Regions from separate parts of the Homo sapiens genome. Here region 1 is linked to region 2. The links are contacts of gene promoters, found by promoter capture Hi-C in blood cells and fetal thymus (Javierre and others, 2016). All regions are on one chromosome and are shown on one strand. Each heading gives the region's core, a stretch centred on a gene start or on the middle of the fragment in contact. The rest is flanking DNA. Distances are from core to core; before and after follow the strand shown.

What was found. Contacts are between HindIII fragments. The CHiCAGO score rates a contact against its expected background, and 5 or more counts as called.
Region 1: a fragment that was not itself captured here is called in contact with the fragment with the promoter of ITK in region 2 in 8 of 17 cell types (non-activated CD4 T cells, activated CD4 T cells, naive CD8 T cells and 5 more); the score reaches 23.5 in non-activated CD4 T cells.

Annotation. Positions count from the first base shown.
Region 1 is chr5:157,283,031-157,289,642 of GRCh38, forward strand. CYFIP2 (cytoplasmic FMR1 interacting protein 2) reads left to right here. Exons shown (of 31, transcript NM_001037333.3): 2 at 2,309-2,448; 3 at 3,989-4,078. The coding sequence starts at 2,332. Among named protein-coding and RNA genes, the nearest start is that of CYFIP2, 20 kb to the left of the region's middle. RefSeq lists enhancers at 3,609-4,109, 4,110-4,610. The HindIII fragment of the contact is 2,652 bases long and covers 2,896-5,547 here.
Region 2 is chr5:157,179,472-157,185,833 of GRCh38, forward strand. ITK (IL2 inducible T cell kinase) reads left to right here and starts at 1,369. Exons shown (of 17, transcript NM_005546.4): 1 at 1,369-1,644. The coding sequence starts at 1,507. The HindIII fragment of the contact is 39,229 bases long and covers 1-5,271 here.

The sequences.
Region 1 (6,612 bases), core at 2,972-5,471, 110 kb after region 2:
TCGAGTGTAATCTCAAAATGTGAGCATGAGCCCTTGGAAGGAAGTATGTAGTAAGGAAGCTGACTTCAGACTATGGAGCTGGACAAACCTGGGTCAGACCTCCCTCCACCACTTGCCAGCACTTGATCCTATGAAATTAAATGCCGAGGTTCTGTTTGTTCATCTATAGACTGGGAATAATCATAGTACCTACCTTTATAGGGTGGATGCAAGATTGAAATAGTCAAGTACTTCGCATAGTGTCTGACACAGAGTAAGGGCTAAAGAAATGTTTCACTATTATTATAATTGGAATTAATGAAGAGAATTACTAGGGCTTTGGAGGTTGAAGATCATTATGCCCAGTAAAATCATTACTCCCTCCTGTAAAATGGACCTAGTAGTAGTGTAAGAAGGAAGACAGTCTTTTTTTTTTCTTTTCTTTCAATGGATCAGTGAAGTGGTTTTGCTGTAGAACTGAATGCCACACTTAGAATTGTGGGGGAGAGAAGAGGAAGAAGCTTAGGTGTGGAGAGGACCTGAAACCACCATAGGAGACCAGCCTTCTGCAGAGGGCAGATGAGGAAGTTACCTCTGGGCTCAGTGAGCCCTCACTGGATGCAGCATTTGCTGTTGTCATGGTACGTGATGGGAAGGTGTGTTTGAGAACTCAGTGAAATGTGAATCTAGTTAGCTGCACAGCAGCCAGTGAAGGCTCAGCCCCAGTCTGCCCTCCCAGCCTTGGGCCTAAGGCAGGTATTAGTCTCGGGGCAGCAGGACCTTAGGTATATTCTGCAGTTGTTTTAGTCCTTGGCAGCCCGTGGACCAAATTCTTGTGTTGATGGTCCTTTTCCCCCCTAATGTTAGACACTGTATTTCCTAACAAGCAAAGCAAACTCACTGACATTCACAGCAGAAATCCCAGCCCCAGGATCTCACAACTCCCTGGGATCGAAGGTGGTTAGGAAGGGATTCTCAGACAAGCACAGTGGCCCTTCTCTTTGTGTCCCTCTTAATCGTGTGTTTAGGGTTGGCTTTATTATTATTAATAATATTTTTCTGAAACTCAGCTTTTAGTGTTTTTGTTCACCTCTACTGTTAACGTTTTATTTTGCTTTGCTTTTTGCTTTATGTCTGCCTTTGTAACTCTCAATCCCTCTGTTCTCATTTCTCTGGGCTGATTTTTGTTCTCTTAAGGTTTTTGAGTGTAACATTAACTTCATTTAGTTCCACTTTTCTTTCAGCTAAATGTGTTGAAGACATGTATTAGTGCTTTCCATCTTTCATTTCTAAAGATCTTATCATTTCTATTTGAATTCCTCTTTAGTTATGAATGACCTTGAAGTATGTTTTATAAATTTTCAAAGGTATGGGATTTTATTGCTACAATTTGCATTATTGATTTCTAATTTCCTTGAATTATATTTAATAATAAGTGAATGTGACTTGTAGGCCATCATTTTTGAAGAAACTTGGGGGAACCTGATTTATAGCCTAAATCATGATTAGTTTTTAAGCAGTGTTTCACATATGTTTGGGGGGAAAAATGAGTATTCTGTTTGCTGGGTGCTGAGTTCTTAAAATAGGAATTAGCTCTAGTTGGGTAACTGTGCTGTTCAGATTCTCTTCAGCTTCTAATCCTGCCAAACATACTATCAAAGCAGCTGCGCTGTGCCAGGGTCTAAGACACAGAAATATCCATTTAGGGCTGATTTGTTTGATGTGGCTCACAAAACATACCCAGGTCAAGGAAGACAGTGGCTCCTCCATCTTTGCAAAGAAGGTTGATTTGCAGGAATTGAGTTATTTTAATCCCAGTTTAATTAGCCTAAAAACCCGGGCTCTGGTTTTCAGTTGATTATCTTGGCTGTCACGATCCTGGATAATTGTATTGCATGGTAATTTAAGAGTGGAACTCATAAATATCCTTATGAAGAACAAAAGGTGGAGAAACTAACCATGACCTATGTTCTCACATCCCACTTGAGGTCCCTCGCTTGTGGTCACGTGACTGTGTGGGCATCACATAATTTCTCTGAGCCTTGATTTTTCATCAGTTATATGGATAGGGTACCACCTTCCATGTTGATCACAGAGGGTGGTGGTGAGGCTCAACCAAGTGCACACAAAATACCTTGTTAGCCATAAAGAGATCCTGAGATGTAAAAGATACACATCGAGAGCACCTTGGGAAGAAGTGGTGAGTGGAAGTGGCCTCAATGCATTTTAACTCTCTTTATTCTCCCAAAGGATGCTGGTCATGGTGCGGTTAAGAGGAATTTTAGAGGCCCCTGAAATTCTCCACTGACCTTCTCTTCCTTCCCTTCAGTGCAGAATACAGAAACTGCAGCCATGACCACGCACGTCACCCTGGAAGATGCCCTGTCCAACGTGGACCTGCTTGAAGAGCTTCCCCTCCCCGACCAGCAGCCATGCATCGAGCCTCCACCTTCCTCCATCATGTACCAGGTAATGGAAATGGTAGATAGCACCAGGGGGCCCAGGAATTCTGGGGATCCCCTAAGAGAGTTTGCCCTAAGGCAGAGGGAAGGGGAGGTCTGCATCTAGAAGGTGAAAGGTTGTGAGCTGATGGAGTCCCTTGTGCGCTGGTAGAGCCGAGTATAAGGAACAGATTAGCTACTAAATGTGCCGCAGGACTGTTTCCCTCCCTCCCCCAGGGAAGTCTTGTTGATCTGCTTTGACCCCAAATACCTTCCAGGCTATTCTTGCTGCTGTACCAACCAAGGTTTTGGCAGCTCTGGCCTCATGAATTAAATATTGCAATTTAGAAACCCCAGAGCCTGCCTGGGTAATTACTTTTCCTTCATGCATGTGAGGAGGGCACTACAACACCTCATAGCAGCTCATGGCTCAGGGAAGCTGGTCACAGTTGTTTGCTTTTGCCTAAGAGAGCAAAGCTTGTGATAAACCACCATCAGATTGTTCCAAACTATGACCTATCAGGGCCGGGAGTCGGTATAGCCCCTTGTCTGGGTGTGCCAGGCCAGATGCCATGTTAAGAAAGGATATGCTAATTTGAAAGTCTTAGCTGTGTTTGACCTTTTGATAGTTCTCAGATTGCTACAGGAGACTAAATATAAATACATAATAAATTCTTAAATTTCATTCAGTAGATGTATGAAGTACATGCTTGAAGGTTCGGCCCATAAACTTCATTGATTCACATCTTCTAACCCAGATTAAAATTTTAATTATACAAATATCTTTTTTATTATAAGCAATACAGAAAAGTATACAAAAAAGTATACAAAAACATATAAATTTTTTCTATAACTATGCGGATATATACCTTTTTTACCAAATATACATATATATGTGTGTGTGTATATATATGCATATATATATACATATATTTTTTTTTTAACCAATAGAGAACCATACTATATTTATTGCTTTGTGAGTTGGCTTTTTAACTTAAAATTTATTATGGATATTTTTCCATGACAATACCACAATACTACCACATTAGGCTTAGCCACCTCATGGTACTTAAAAGTCCATTTATGGATATGCTATTTTATGTATATATATATATATATATATATATATTTAGCCTTTCACTGTTGATGGATATGTAGGTTGTTTACAGTTTGTTTTAATCACAAAAAACAGCCACAGTAATTATTCTTGTACCTATATATCCACACCCTTGGGTGAGTATTTCTGGAACTGCCGAATCAAAGCAATGCACATCTTAACTTTTAGCAGCTATTTGGGCTTGTGGAGTTTAAGCATCTGCTTCTGAAGCTCAGATGAGTGAACCTGATTACTGATGGGAAGCAGACGGCAGACCCTGTCATCACCAGCTCCTGCCCAGTGTGATTGAGAGTGGGACTTTGTGGGGAAGGGGCAAGATGAAAGGTGACGCAGCAGGAGGTTTCCACAGAGAGCTTGCGTTGTTTGTTGGCAGCAGTTTGCCCTCTGGACACCCAGCCAACTTGGAACTGTTTTCTAACAACCAAAATGTTCCTGTCCTCTAATTCCACAGGCTAACTTTGACACAAACTTTGAGGACAGGAATGCATTTGTCACGGGCATTGCAAGGTACATTGAGCAGGCTACAGTCCACTCCAGCATGGTAAGTCTCTGTGACCCACGTGTGCAGACATGCTCCCTGCTGGGCTGGCAGGGGCCGCGGGCAGCTTCTCACACCAGAGGCATGTGCTCAGCTACTCTAAGAACCCCCTGCCTCAGTCAGAATCATCTGCTTAAGCCCACTCTTACATTCTGCGCCATCCCCTGTCGGTGCCTAGAAACATACAGTTCCCCTTTATTGTCCAGCTTTGGGAATCCTACTCAACTGTTAGGGCCCAACTTAGTCTCCACTACTCACTTTCTTGAGCTCCTATAGCTTTTTGGGTTAACATGTGATTGGATCTTGCCTTGTTTATAGGTTAATGAATGTGTGGAATTTTGTCTCTTGAGCAGAGCAAAAGGTTCCTTGAAAAAGGGACATTGGCTTTGGTTTTGGAATAACAGTTACTCAAAAAAGCTGATGGCCTAAATCATTTGCAAATAGGGCCAGTTATTATTTTCTCTCTTAGAGTCTGATTCATCTGTGGAGGGCTCCTCCCCTTCTCTGTTGGGCTTCCATTGATTTTATTCTCATGCAGCACTGCAATTTAAAGAATTCCAAATTCCATGTTCATAGACCCTGCCTGTGGTTCCATAAACCCTGCCTGTGGCTCCATAGACCTTTGACACTATATGTCTTAGCTCGTTTTGTGATGCTATAACAAGGAAACTGCAGACTGGATAATTTATAATAAATAGAAGTTTAGGCTGAGTATGGTAGCTCATGCCCATAACCCCAGCACTTTGGGAGGCTGAGGTAGGAAGATCCCTTGAGCCCAGGAGTTCAAGACCAGCCTGGGCAACATGGCAAGACCCTGTCTCTACAAAAATTTTAAAAATTAGCCGGGTGAGGTGGCACACACCTATAGTCGCAGCTACGTGGGAGGCTCAGGTGGGAGGATTGCTTGAGCCCAGGAGGTTGAGGCTGCAGTGAGCCATGATCGTATCACTGCATTCCAGCCTGGGCAACAGAGCAAGACCCTATCTCAAAAAAATAAGAGTAGTGGCTTATTGGCTTATGATTATGGAGGCTGGAAAGTCCAAGATTGAGGGGGCAGTATCTGGTGAGAGCCTTCTTACTGTATCATATCATGGCAGAAGCCATGACATGGGTGGCAGAGAAAGGGAAGGGGTCCAAACTCATCCTTTATGAGGAACCCACCCCCATAATAACAGCATTAATTCTTTCATGGGGGTAGAGCCCTCATGACCTGATCACCTGTTAAAGATCCCACCTCTCAACACTGTTGCACTGGAGATTTAAGTTTCTAACACATGAACTTTGGGGAACACACTCCAACCACAGCACTGTATTGGTTATCTCCCGTAACCTTGTGTTGACAAACCCTGCTCATTCATTCAATAAGTATTGTGTGGCTGGTGCCCTCAGAGGACTGTGTAAATGCTGGAGAGGTATGCAAGGGCAGATAGGGGCCAGTCCTGATCCTCAGTGAGTCAAGTGGGAAATAGATAAGCTTACCATTTATCGAATGCTTTTTCTATACAGATATTTTAGATGCATTGTCTCATTTGCTCCTGACATCAACCCTGTGAGGTAGGTTCTATTATCATATCCATTTTGCCGATGGGGAAAACTGGAGCCCAAAAAAATTGCATAACTTACTCAGGGTCCTGCAGCTGACAAGTGACAGCTCTAGATCAAGGTCTGCCTGACTACAAAACCTTTGCTCCAGACTATGCCTTGCAGACAAACAAAAATACACGAAGTTAAGGGTAAATGTCATGGTAAAAGTTCAAAGTTCTGTGTTTTTGAAGGAACCTTGAGAGAGTCAGAGAAAGCTTGATGTAGGAAGTGGCTTTTGTGTGAGGCCTTGTAGGAGGATAATGATACCTTGTAGATACAGTATACTTTAAAATATATGTAAGGCATTTTCATATATTATATTATTGGAGCTTTATAACAGCCCTGTGACTTGCAAAGGGATCATTATATCCATTTTAGGGATGAGAAAACTGAGGCCTAGAAAAGTTAATAAGCAGGTTGCTCATGATCCCACAACCAGTAAATCACAGGACTGGACCTGAAATCCAGGACTGATTGCCAGTCCTGATCTCTTTCTCCTGTTCCGTGCTGTCTCACACAGTTAGAATTTTACCAGTCAGAGATGAGACGGGGAGAGCACACCATGTGGAAGAGCTGGTGTGAGCAAAGGCACAGGGCAAGGATTTTCGAGGAGTGACTGGTATGGACTGTAAAGTGCATATAGGGATATTGTTTACAGATTCCCTACAAATAAAGGGTCGGGGCATAGAGGGTGTATTCGTTGGCTTGGATACCTTAACAAAGTGCCACAGACTAAATGGCTTAAACAGCAAAAATGTATTTCCTCCCCGTTCCGGAGATTAGAAGTCCAAGATCAAGGTGTCTGTAGGTTCGGTTTTTCCTCAGACTTTTTTCCTTGGCTCCCAGATGGCTGTTTCTCTCTGCATCCTCACATGGTCTCTTCTCTGTGTGCACACATCTCTGGCACCTTCTTTCTGTGTGTCCAGATTTCCTCTTTTTATAAGGACACCAGT
Region 2 (6,362 bases), core at 119-2,618:
CTCAATATTCTAGTCACAAGGCAGGAGGAAAAGGGAAAGAAAAGGGGATGACAGATCCCACTAAGGAAATTTCCTAGAAGTTGTGCACACGACTTCTGCTACATTCAGTTGACCAGAAGACAGTCATACAACTACACCTAGCTACAAGGGAGGCTAAAATTTGTAGTCTTTATTCTTGCTGGCCAGATGCCCAGATAACTGTCAGGGATTCTGTTACTCTAGTAAGAAGGAGAGAGTAGCTATTTGGGAATAGTAGCAATCCCTACCTCAAGCCCATACTCAGAAAAAAAAAATACTATCTTGTTTGGGCAGTGTATTTCCACACATATGTCTTAAGAATCTCAGAATGGGGGAGGTAATTTAAAATATACCAGTACCGTACCCTCCTGGGTGTCTTGATTATGCTGGGGCATCCAGTATATGAAATAAAATTAGGCTGTTGTCTGGTAATTTACATTTAAAAATAAACATTGGAGAATTTCACTCCTATACAGCAATAATTATTATTTCATTTATTATTTATCCCTACCCACTACATGCAATATCTGCTTACACTAAAATCTCTTGATTATTAACATAGTAGAGGTAACTGTCACACATTATACTTCAACTATGTACTAACTCTAAGGTGACATGTATGACTAGCACCTACCATTCATAAGATGTATGGGATTCAGTCCTCCAAAGGACCCTCACAAGGAAGCTAAGGATCAGAGAAGTCATGGCTTGCTCAAAGAGAAACAGCATAGTAAGTGACAGAGCTGGGAATCCAACACAAGTTTGTCTGTTTTCAAAGCCCACATATACTTTGTTTATTATGCCATTCTGAAGGATTCACTTATTTTTCACTCTTCCACAAAACGTCAGGACAGAAAGGCAGTCATCTATATGTAGCATTGAGAAATTTCTATGGGCTTTAATTTAAATCTTAAAAACTAATAAACTTCAGCAACATATTTCTTCACTTTAATGTGTGAGGGTTTTGTGCTCATTACCTCTTTTAATTGTCCAACCCAATTTGGTGATGATCCATTCAACAAATTTTTCTTGAACATCTGTTTTATGTGTCAGGTACTGTGATGGTTGCTGAGTATATCATGGTAAGCAAAACCACACATTGTCCTTACTCCTTGTGCTACATGATTTAACTGCTGGATGGATTAAACCAGGAACTATAAAGATTAAACTGTAATCCTTACCACAATTTTGAGTTTACAGTTTTTCAAATATCATTTCAAGCCATTAGCAAAGGCTGTATGTATTTTTTACATATGCCTCCTCGTTTTGTGAATTTTGAAAGGATGTGGTTTCGGCCTTTGACATCAGAGGAGAAGCTCAGCTATGTTGGCTGAACGTTGATAGAAAGATAACGTTGAAGGCAAGTTGCCCTTGAGCAGCTCTCTGAAGATCAACTGCCTCCACATTGCATTCTTTGCCCCAAAACTCTTTCCTTTGGTTGTGCTAAGAGGTGATGCCCAAGGTGCACCACCTTTCAAGAACTGGATCATGAACAACTTTATCCTCCTGGAAGAACAGCTCATCAAGAAATCCCAACAAAAGAGAAGAACTTCTCCCTCGAACTTTAAAGTCCGCTTCTTTGTGTTAACCAAAGCCAGCCTGGCATACTTTGAAGATCGTCATGGGGTATGTGAGCAGTTTCATTTGTCTTTTTTCGCATAGCATTTTATGTTTGGACTGGGCTAATGCAAAAATATATACATAGCATAAAATAGAGCACAGGAAACACAAACATGCTTATTGTAACAACATAAAAAGTACAGTAAAAGTAATCAGAGGAGAATGCAGAGAGCAGTCAAGAGGTGAAATGGTGGTGCTAGGTGATTTCAGTTCTAAAAACTGTAAATTTAACATTCATCAGCTTTTTCCCCCTGCAAGGTTATGTTTGGTTTTTAAATTATGAATAACATTTTAGGTAGCAAGTATTATGATTCGATAAAACTTGAACTTTCTATGAAACATACTAAATTTAATGAAACATACTAAATTTAATGAAACATAGATTAATACAACACTAGCATTCAATGGGATGATCTACCCCAGCTTTCTTATTTTTTAGTGGAAGAAACTGGTGTTTAGAATGGTTAAGTTTTGGGTTCAGTGTTAACGTTTTCATGAATAACTCTGTTTGTCTCAATACTCGTCGCTAGCCTGATCTTGAAATAAGATTTCCCAGGCATTTAATTATCTAAAAGTTGTAAGGCACAATGGCAAACCTCTTCATCTCTTGATAGACTTCTTAGGACACCAGGGTTATTAAGAACAAAGTTTCTGCAGTGCAGACCAGCGGTTCTTACCCAGAAGGAGTATGGCTGCTTTGCTAGGTCAGTCTATCTCTTTATCTAAAAATAGTCTTGTGCTTCTTAACATCACTAATAACAAAAGCAACAGGAATAATCCTAATAATGTAGTTTGGTAGAAAAAGCATTGGACAAAGGGTCAGGAGACCAAACTCTACTTCTCAGTAGGTGATCCAGTCTGGGCAAATGTCTACCTCCTGTTTCAGGTTCTTTCTTCATAAAATGAAAAAACTGGAAATAACAACCTTCAAGATCCCTTTCTTCTTCAAAACTTCTTTGCTTTATGCAGTGGCTCTTGTTTAGCCCTATGCTGCAATTTTTCAAAGCATGTTTGATTTCTTACTGTATGGTTATATTATTTTTACATCATTAGTGGGGTAGGACAAGGATTATCACTTATATTTTACTGAAGGGAAAATAATATTAGGTGCCTGATGGTCACTTAGAAACAAAAGTGCTCCAGTTCTTTGTTGGAGTCTGACTTAGTAGGTGGTGGCATGAGTTTGGGATTCTTTGGTGTGCCAGGGTTTAAAGCACTTCATGAGATGGAGCTCCAGAGGAGGTCAGGCTGGGTATAGAGCCTATGGATGCCTCACTTTTTAAAGTTGCAGGTGTTGCATGTCTTTTGTGAATTAAAAAAATACAGAAAACAAAAAAGTTGCAGGCGAAATAGCTCTGCCTCTTTAGAAGTGAAAAGAATTGCTTGTCTTATTATCAGACTCTTACTGATAACAATTTACCAGTCAATCAGAAAACACATGGAATTACGTGCAAGTCCTCTTTGCTAGGTGGCCAGGAGCCCAGTTTGTGAACTTGGGGGATTTATCATGTAGAGCTAATAAATCGCATGGCATTACTCAATGCTTTTTTGTGAATGGAACATTTAAAGTTTTTGTTTCATATTGAAAGAACAGTCATGTACCTTTAAATATTTTTTTCAAAGTCCATTTTGCAGTTTTCACCAGTTCGTTTTTCTGATTCAACATAGTATCATCTCATTTAGTTAGTATTAATAATTCCTTAGCCCAACTGCTATTTGTGAACTGATTGTGAATTCAGCTCAATATTATTTGTAAGTAATCACAAAACCAGATGGCCTTAATTCAGAATATTATTGGTCATAATTTGCATGTAGACAAGGTTGTAAAATCACCCTACTTCTTTATCTGAGCATTATGGAAAATTTCAAGACAATTACTTCATTCTGGGGAGCCCTAGGCTACAGTTTCTAATTCTTCCATGTGAGATATAGAGAATACATGTCCAAACATCAAATTTCTTGTTTTCTAATGCCTTTTTTACTCTTATAAATAACATTTTAAAAGTATTTCTTTAATTATTTAATTATTATAGAAGTTTATTAATTAGAAATTTATCCAAGTTCCCTGAAAAAGGTAATATATGTGAATTATTATTGTTCATGTCTTAGGTATACTACATGGTTTCAGGCCACCAATTTGCACACAAGGCTGCATTAATATTACTCATAAGTAAATAACATTACACTTATGGGAAGAACATTTTCATTTTTAAATTAAAGGCTTCATTTTCAATCTGTAAAATGGGTGTGATAATAGTACCCATTTCATAGGAAGATGGCAAAGACTCAGAGGTATAATGTCTTTAGGCTGAACTTTTTGAAATTATTTGGCAGATCGAATATCAGATATTAGAAGTTTCAAACAATTCAACTTAATATATTAGGTACTTAGCATAGGCCCTGTCATCTGGTAAGCATCTAGTAAAAATTAACCATTATTTGTATCCCTTTCATGTCTCTACAGAAGCTAGCAGGCTGTCATAACAATTCATTTTCAAATTATGGGAGATATTCAAGGATTCTTCAAAGTCAAGCTAAGATCAGGGTCCTGGATTCCTTCTATTCTGTGGCTAAATATAAGTTTTGTGGGGTAGATATACATGCATTATGAGCTGTTTGGCCAGTTATTGCCCCTCTTAGGGTGTCGGGTGTCAGAGCTTCTTTTTCTCTTTTCTCATGTGTAAAATTATGATTCTTGCAGTTCTCATATTCTATGAATTTATAACACCATATGAAAAATAACCCTTCTACATACTCAAGAACATATTCTGTAATTCTAGAAATCAAGTATGTTTATTCTAACCTAAAAAATCATGCCTATTGTCATTATAATACTAATTGATTGAGGTTTTACTTTAACATGGTTTTAGTTCTGGTGTTCGATGCCTGTTTTTCCTGTTGAGATGTGCAAGTGTTTTCAGAGGGGCCAAGAAGCGCCTTCATCTTGCTGGAGCAGTGGGCCAGAAAGAAGCATAGATTTGGCAGGTGGTAGCTTGCAGACAGACATGATTTCAGAGGCTCTCCTGTGCCTGTCAATTTTTTTCCAAGTTGTCCCTGATGCCTGAAATTCTATGACAGAGGACAATGAGAGATAAGGGCACATGGATGTCCTGGTAAATGCTTAGGAATCCGAGTACAGGGCTTGTTGGAGAGCCCTGATTCATAGTGTTTGCCAATTCCTTTGGTGTAAATATTCCCATCATGGCCCATTTTAAACTACCAATGTGATGTCTGCTGGCTCACAGATTCCTGAAAACTTAACAATTAGCTACCTCGGGCCAGTACAAGCCGAGTCCAGCACACCGTCGGCAAGCCTAAGTACAAATGATCCTTGGAGAGGTAGCCACCAACTAAACAGCATACTTAGTTGCATGTGACTGATATCGGATCCTTTTCAGCGGTAAAGGGAAAATGGAGAGCCTCAGGCACTTTGAGTAAGCACAGGATGGAAGAGGCAGCCTAAATGGGAATAAAGCATCATAGATTGGTGTGGCTCACGTGGCCACTTTCTAGATGTGGGATCTCAGACCAGACACTTGACCTCTTTCTGCCTGTGTCCTATTTGTAAAGTAAGGACCCCAACACTACCTACTTCAAGTGATGTTGAGTATTTCATGAGAAAAGTATGTTATAAGCTTTTTACCAATTGCTACATGGTAAGGTGATTATTACTCACAATTTTGCCCAAGCACCACCTTGGTCTTCTGAAAGCCCCTCTGGAGAACTGGAAAGGTTCTCCTATTTTGATGACTCTTTGCCCCTTAGGGATCAAGTGTGCTGTGCTCCTTATGATGTGGGAGGCATTATCATTTACATGGAACAAGAGAAACAGTCAAGATCACCATTCCAGTAAGCATCTGGGTGAGGGTCTCCACTCCTCATGGCCTTTTCCCTTTAGCCTACAGTCTTATCTAGCAACAGAACCATCTCCTGCTTGCAGCAAGCATCCTTTCTAAATTAAAGATGGTAGGTGGGGAGATGGTCCCCTTTCCTTGCTTTTGAAAGCATTACTGCTAGTGATCACAAACACTGCTTCTGGAATCAGACAGATCTGGGTCAAAAACTAGCTCACATTTGATCTGTGTGATTTTGTATAAATTATATAATGCTGTGCAATTCTCTAAAAAGCTATCTTTTTTTTTTTTTTTAGACAGAGTCTTGCTGTGTCACCCAGGCTGGAGCACAGTGGTGCCACCTTGGTTCACTGCAACCTCTGCCTCCCAGGTTCAAGTGATTCCTCTGCCTCAGCCTCTTGAGTAGCTGGAACTACGGGTGCGCGCCATCATGCTTGGCTAATTTTTGTATTTTTTTTTAGTAGAGACGGGGTTTCACCATATTGGCCAGCTGGTCTCGAACTCCTGACCTCATGGTCTGCCCACCTCGGCCTCCCAAAGTGCTGGGATTACAGATGTGAGCCATCGCGCCTGGCCTATGTTTTTAAAATAATTAAGCAAGGCCAGACACAGAGACTCACGCCTGCAATCCCAACATTTTGGGAGGCCTAGGTGGGCGGATCACTTGAGCCCAGGAATTTGAAACCAGCCTGGGCAACATGGTGAGACTCCGTCTCCACAAAAAAAAAAAAAAAGCCAGATGTGGTGCTGCATGCCTGTAGTCCCAGTTACACAGGAGGGTGAGGTGGGAGGATCCCTTGAGCCCAGGAGGTTGAGACTGCAGTGAGCTGTGATCATGCCACTGTAATCCAGCCTGGGCAACAGGCTGAG